2 separate regions of the Homo sapiens genome follow, and region 2 is linked to region 1. Evidence: promoter capture Hi-C in human tissues and cell types (Jung and others, 2019). All regions are on one chromosome and are shown on one strand. The core of a region is centred on a gene start or on the middle of the fragment in contact, and the rest is flanking DNA. Distances in the headings are between cores, read along the strand shown.

Region 1 (3,615 bases), core at 882-3,381:
GTGGCACCACAATGACCCTCCACACTGACGGTTGGTGCAGGGGTCACCCAGGCAGACTTAGGGGCCGAGCGCATGGAGGGCCTTGATCCCCTCACTCTCCCTCCTGAGTCCTCCCTATCCTCCTCCTTCCCTCCTCACTGCATCCCCCTCCCCGTCTCCTTTGCTTCCTCCTCCCCCTCCTCACTCCCCTCTGTCCTCCTTTTCTTCCCCCTCTTCCCTGTCCTCCTTCTTTCCTCCCACCTTCCTCCCTCCTCCCTGTCCTCCTCCCCCTACTGGCACAGACACAGGGCCGTGCACACCCAGGAGCCTTCCCAACAGTCATCAGGCCTCCCCGCCCCCGCAGCGTGTGGCCCAGGATTGCATAACAGTCACTGTGGCCCTTAGGGCTGGGCTTGGGGGACCGGGGCTGCCTTGGGAGCCCACCCTACCAGGAGACACTCAGAGTGACCCTGGAGCTTGCAGAGAGGGCTGGGGGTGCCTAGGGATGGCCCAAGGAGCTCTGCCACCCATCTAGCTCCACCTGGAGTTCAGAATTGAGAGGTCAGGGATCAGAGACAGTGGGCCTGTGGCTTTCTTGAGGCAGAATTGGCTCTTTCTGAGACAACCTCCGTCACCCTCTGCCTGGGCCGCCCACTTCGTGTTCCCAGGTGGGAAGGGGTGTCGGTGTGGATGCCACAGCAGGCTGGCTGGTCCTGCCTGGTCCTGCCTGTGGCTGGCCAAGTGAGGAGGCCAGGAGCCCAGCACTGAGCCTGCCCCTCTGGGTTTCCAGGTAGTACAGCCTCGCTGCAGGATGTCAGCCCGGCTCTGGTCGGGTTGGTGTGATGTCAGGCCTGGGGTGCCTCCCAGCCTCCTGGGGTGGCTCTGAGCCAGGGCATAGTGGGGGAAGGGAGCTGCCTCTAGACCAGGAAAGTGGATTCAGGTGGGCAGCCTGCCAAGCCCTTCCCGGCTCCCCTCAAGCCTCCTCACTCCTGAGAGGTCATGGGGTGGGAAAAGGGAGAAGGGTCCTTTCCGAGGGACCCTGGTCTGACACCTGCCTAAGGCTGCAACTGTCACTGAGAGTGAGGAGCAGTGGCGATCTGCCCTTCTCTTCTCGGGGTCCCCTGGGGCTCCCACTTCTTCACCCCCAAGACCCAGTCCCTGTCCTTGTCCCAGCCTCAGCCCCCATTCTCACTTATCACATGCTCACCCCAGGTCCCACCCAGCCCCAATCTCAGTCCTGGCCTTGTCCCAGCCCTGTCCCCTGCCGCGCCTCTCCCTGAACTCCAGCCCTGGGGCCAGCCCTAACTGCACTGTCTCAGCTCCACTCCTGGCTCCTTTCCAGCACCAGTCCCTGTCTCCTGTGGGTACCCCTGTGGGCCCATGGCCCTGACCCTTTGGTCAACAATCATGTCCTCTGTGCCAGGCCCCAGACTGGGCGTTGGGGACCCAGAGTTCCATCAGCTTTGGTTTCCAGGAGCCCCAAGGCCATGGGCCAAGACTTCTGCCCATTGCCTCCTGCCTTCAACCCCTTCCCATCCAGGGGACCGGCCTCCCCCAAGCCAGTCCCCCCATCTCCCTCCTCTACCTCTCTACCACCGCCTTCACCATCCTCAGCCCAGCACCCTCCCCAGGAGCCCCGGCCTCCGCCTGCCACCCGAGCCCTGTCTATAAATAACTGTTCAGGCCCCACCGATCACAGCCCCACCGTGGGCCTGGCCTCAGCCCGCCAGGGCATGCTCCGAGGAAGCCAATGGCCCCCTCGCTGGGTCTCAGGCCAGGAGTTCCAGGGAGGAAACCCTGACTTCCCACTGATAGCAAGCCAGGAGGGCAGTGGGTGGGCTGGCGGGTTCGTGGGCAGGCAGGCAGGCGTCCGAGGGCCACGGGTTGGGCTGGTGGAGGAGTCCCGGTACTCACAGGGGGGACGAGGGGAAACCCTTCCATTTTGCACGCCTGTAACATCCAGCCGGGCTCCGAGTCGGTCAGATCCCCTGCCTCGGTGGGGGCCAATGCAGAGCCCCTCAGGATGGGGTGCCCCGTCAGGGGCTGGACGGTCGTGGGGCGGGTGCAGGGCTCAGGCCTGCCCCCTGAGCTACAGGAGCCCTGGGTGAGCCCCCTCCCTTGACATTGCAGGGCCAGCACAAGTTCCTGATTTTATCGAAGGGCCTGCCGCTGGGAGATAGTCCCCTTGGGGTGACATCACCGCCCCAACCCGTTTGCATAAATCTCTTGCGCTACATACAGGAAGTCTCTGGCCGGCTGGGGCAGGTGGTGCTCAAAGGGCTGGCCTGGGAAGCCATGGGGTCCAGGCCCCCTGCCCAGAGGAAGCTGGGACTGAGAGGGATGACTTTGGGGGCTAAGCTGGGGAGGGAGGATGGGAGGGAGAACGTGTAGCTCTGCCACACCACTGGGAGGCTTTTGCTCTAACCCAACAAATGCCTGCTTCTTTTGAGATCCCTATGTAGCCAACAGTCACCTCATTGGGGTCAGAGCTGGAAGGGGTGGCCTCTTGGGGCCTCCACTTTCTGGAGTCAGCCTTCCTGGGTGAGGGCTCTGATCTAGCAGGCTATCAGGCCTGGCTCTTCCTGTGGCCCTGCACCCCCACTGCCTAGGCTATCCCTAGGCTGAGGCTGGGCTCAGGTGTAGGGTCTTCAGCATAGTGCTGCTTTCTTCCTTCCCTCTGAATCTGTTCACATGGGCTTCCCTACCACCAGAAGAGGGTCCTGGGTTCTTATACCCTCCCCTCCCAGCTTCTTGATTACCACATTCAAATCCCTAGGGCTCTGTTTCCAGCCCAGGTTTCTCAGTTTCCCCATCCCTTGGCAATGCCTGAATATCAATCTAACCCTCCTGGTTTACAAACCTTTCTTGCCTATCCACCATTCATCTGTTTTCCCATGCATCTATTTGTCTGTCTATTTGTCCATCCAGCTATCCATTCATCAAGCCCACCATGCATTCACTTATGTGTCCATTTATCCAACTGTCCGTTTGTTTGTTCATTCATCTGTCAGTCAATTCATCCACCCACCCATCTGTTTATCTACTTGTCTATCTAACCATCTATATGTCCATTAATCAGCCCGTCCACCTGCTATCAGTCCATCAGTCCACAATTCCATCTGTTTATCCATCTATGAATCTGCTCATCCATTCATCCACCTGTCCATCCATCCACCCATCCACTCATCCACCCATCTACCCATCCACTCATCTGTCCATCAACCCATCCATCATCCACCTACCCCTTCATTCATTCATCCATCCATCCACCAGTCCACTCATCCACCCATCTACCAATCCACCCACCTACCATTCCACCCATCTATTCATCCACCTATCCATCCATTCACCTATCAGCTTCGGTTTCCAGGAGCCCCATGAGAACAGGCAGTATTTGACTTTCTGTTTCTGCGTTGTTTCGCATATGATAATGTCCTCCAATTCCATCCATGTTGCTGCAAAGACATAATTTCATTCTTTTTTATGGCTGAATAGTATTTCATTATATATATATATAAATACAATATAACATGTTATTTATTCACTCACCCGTTGATGGACACTTATGTTGATTCTGTATCTTTGCTATTATGAATAGTGCTGTGATAAACATACAAATGCAGTATCTTTTTGGTA
Region 2 (3,544 bases), core at 1,022-3,521, 74 kb before region 1:
TCTGATATAATTATAGCTACTCTTGCTTGCTTTTGGTTTCTATTTGTGTGAAATATCTTTCTCCATCCCTTCACTTTCAGTCTGTATGTGTCTTTGCTAGTGAAATGAGTTTCTTGTAGGCAGCATATAGTTAGGTCAAGTATTTTTTTTTTTTAATCCATTCAGCCAGTCTACCCCTTTTAAGTGAGGGAATTTAATCTATTTACATTCAAGGTTGTTATTGATAGTGTGGACTTACTTCTGTTGTTTTGTTAATTGTTTTCTGATTATTTTGTATGTCCTTTGTTTCTTCCTCTCATTTATCATTATGGTTTGGTGGTTTTCTGTAGAGATAAGGTTTGATTCTTTTCTTTTTCTCCTTTGTGTGTCTGTTCTACAAGTGGATTTCATACTTTTGTGTATTTTCATGATAGTAATTATCATCTTTTTACTTCCAGATGTAGGACTCCCTTGAGCATGTCTTGTAAGGGTGTGATGACTTCCTCATTTTTTTTTTCATGTCTGGGAAAGACTTAGTTTATCCTTCATTTCTGAAGCACAACTTTGCTGGGTATAGTATTCTTGACTGAGATTCTTTTTCTTGCAGCGCTTTGAATATATCATCCCATTCTCTACTGGCTTGTAAAGTTTCTGCAGAGAAATCTGTTAGTTTAATAGAGATTCCCTTAAATGTGACTTAACACTTTTCTCTTGCTGTTTTTTTTTTTTTTTTTTTTGAGACGGAGTCTCACTCTGTCACCCAGGCTGGAGTACAGTGGTGCAATCTCGGCTCACTGCAAGCTCCGCCTCCTGGGTTCACACCATTCTACCTCAGCCTCCTGAGTAGCTAGGACTAAGGTGCCTGCTACCATGCCTGGCTAATTTTTATGTATTTTTAGTAGAGACGGGGTTTCACCATGTTAGCCAGGATGGTCTCGATCTCCTGACCTCGTGATCTGCCTGCCTCGGCCTCCCAAAGTGCTGGGATTACAGGCGTGAGCCACTGCACCCGGCCTTCTCTGGCTGTTTTTAGAATTCTCTCTTTGACTTTTGACAATTTGACTGTAATGTACCTTGGAGAGGCCTTTTTTTTTTTTTTTTTTGAGACAGTCTCACTCTGTCACCCAGGCTGGAGTGTAGTAGTGTGATCTCAGCTCACTGCAACCTGCGCCGCTTGGGTTCAAGCTTTTCTCCTGCCTCAGCTTCCTGAGTAGCTGGGATTACAGGCATGCACCACCACGCTCGGCTAATTTTTTTGTATTTTTAGTAGAGATAGGATTTCACCGTGTTGGTCAGGCTGGTCTCGAACTCCTGACTTCAAATGATCTGCCCGCCTTGGCCTCCCAAAGTGCTGGGATTACAGGCGTGAGCCACCGCATCTGGCTGGAGAGGACTTTTTTGGGTTGAATCTGTTTGGGGACTTTTGAGCTTCCTGGATCTGGCTGTCCATCTCTCTCCCCAGACTTGGGAAGTTTTCAGCTATTATTTCATTAAATAAGTTTTTTATGCCTTTCCCCTTCTCTCTTTGGAAATCCAATAATATGAATATTTGTTTACTTAATGAGATCCCCTAAGTGTTGTAGACCTTCTTGACTGTTTTCCATTCTAACTTTTTTCCCTCTGACTAATTTCGAATGACTTATCTTCAAATATAGAGTCATTCTTCTGCTTGATCAAGTCTGCTGTTGTAGTTCTCTATTGTATTTTTTCCTTTTTTTTTTTTTTGAGACGGAGTTTCGCTCTTGTTGCCTAGGCTGGAATGCAATGGCACTATCTCGGCTCACCGCAACCTCTGACTCGTGGGTTAAAGCAATTCTCCTGCCTCAGCCTCCCAAGTAGCTGGGATTACAGGCATGCGCCACCACACCTGGCTAATTTTGTATTTTTTAATAGGGACGGGGTTTCTCCATGTTGCTTCGGCTGGCCTTGAGCTCCCAACCTCAGGCGATCCACCCACCTCACCTCCCAAAGTGTTGGGATTACAGGTGTGAGCCCCCACGCCTGGCCCTCTATTGTATTTTTTAAACTTTGTTCATTGAATTATTCAGCTGCAAGATTTCTGTTTTTTTGTTATGATTTTTATCTCTTTGTTGAATTTCTAATTCATATCATGAACTGTTCTTCTGATTTTGTTGAATCATCTATCTGTATTTTCTTGTATCTCATTGCATTTCCTTAAGATCATTACTTTTAATTTATTTTCTGGCAATTAATTGATTTCCTTTTCATTGGGGTCTATTACCAAAGAGTTATTATGTTCCTGTGGTGGAGTCATATGTCCTTGTTTTTTTCATGTTTCTTATGTCTCTGTGTTGATACCCCACATCTGGCAGAACAGTCACTTCTTCCAAACTCTCTGGAGTGGCTTTCATAGAGAAAGACTTTCACATGCAGTTGGGTTTTAGTGTGCCAGTTGGGAAGGGTATGGCAACTCTGTTTCTGGATAGATGTAGTGGTATGTTTTCTGTGTAGCTTCTTCAGCTGCATTCAACATGAGCAATAACTATGGGTGCCTCAAGAGTCCTAGGCTATAGAAGTGTGGCAGTGGCAGTGGTGGTATATGTTGTTAATATCCTTGGTGTCAAGGAGTTTTGGAGTCCTCCTATTCTCATTTTCCTCACAATGGAGTGACTCAGCCAAGAGAATCCCTCTTGGTGTCAGGTCTGACTGACATGGCCTACAAGCAGCTGCAGAGGCACTGGGTTCCAGGTACAGATGCGTGGAGTAGCTGTGGAGTCAGGTTTCCAGGCTTAGGGTCTCACAAACCTATTGTGGCACCTGGGTATTGGGGTACAGATTTGCTCTCTGTGGCAAGGTTGGATGTAGGTTGCCCACAGAGCCAGGATCTGAGGCACCCGCTAGCAGCTCAGGCCCAGGGGACTGGCTCATAACTGTGATTCTAATACTGGGGGATAGGCCATAGCACTGGCCTTACTCTGTGGAAGAAGGGGTGCTCTGGAGGTTTGGGCCTAGGGAGCAGGGTACAGCTGCAATTCAGGGATCTGAGCCAATAGGGCTCAGTGGCAGCTCAGGTCCCACGGAATGAGGCACCATGTAGTAGTGACTCTAGACTCCAGGATGGTGGGGCTTGGCTGTATCCTAGACTCTGTGAAGCCAAGTGCAATGGCAGCGAATACCCCAGCGTGGCAGAGCACAGCTGTCATTTGGGCCCTGGGGGTCAGGGAGCAGCACAGCAATGACTCCACTCCCCAGGAAGAGGGTATCTTAGCAGCTCAGACTCTAGGGGCAAGTCCAGTTCCAGGGAAGCAGGGTACTGGAGTTGTTTGGCTAGGGCAAGGTATCTCAGCTCAGCCACTGCTCTGTTTCCTGGGACATGGGGTACTGTGTCAGCTCAGCCCTGGAATGCGTAGCTGCTCAGCTTGGCCAGCCACCAATTCCCCTGGGGACAATGTGCTGCTTTAGCACAGGCCTAGTGTGGGCATGACTGTTCTGGGTGACCCAGGCACAGTATCATTGGAATGCAGGGTGCCGCTTCAAGTTAGGTGCTAGGATGCATGACTGCCCTGGGTGGCCAAGGCACCATTTCCTGGGATACAGATTGCTT

The links. The method cuts DNA at HindIII sites, captures the fragments that hold promoters and counts their contacts. A contact is called where the count stands out against the background at its distance.
Region 2: a fragment that was not itself captured here is called in contact with the fragment with the promoter of SPI1 in region 1 in 2 of the 25 tissues and cell types used here (IMR-90 fibroblasts and psoas muscle).

Annotation. Positions count from the first base shown.
Region 1 is chr11:47,376,416-47,380,030 of GRCh38, forward strand. SPI1 (Spi-1 proto-oncogene) reads right to left here and starts at 2,132. Exons shown (of 5, transcript NM_003120.3): 1 at 1,894-2,132. The coding sequence starts at 1,938. RefSeq lists enhancers at 686-885, 1,556-1,605, 1,779-2,730, 2,226-2,295. The HindIII fragment of the contact is 21,953 bases long and covers 1-3,615 here.
Region 2 is chr11:47,302,544-47,306,087 of GRCh38, forward strand. All of the region lies in intron 24 of MADD (MAP kinase activating death domain), which reads left to right. Among named protein-coding and RNA genes, the nearest start is that of MADD-AS1, 32 kb to the left of the region's middle. The HindIII fragment of the contact is 7,250 bases long and covers 1-3,544 here.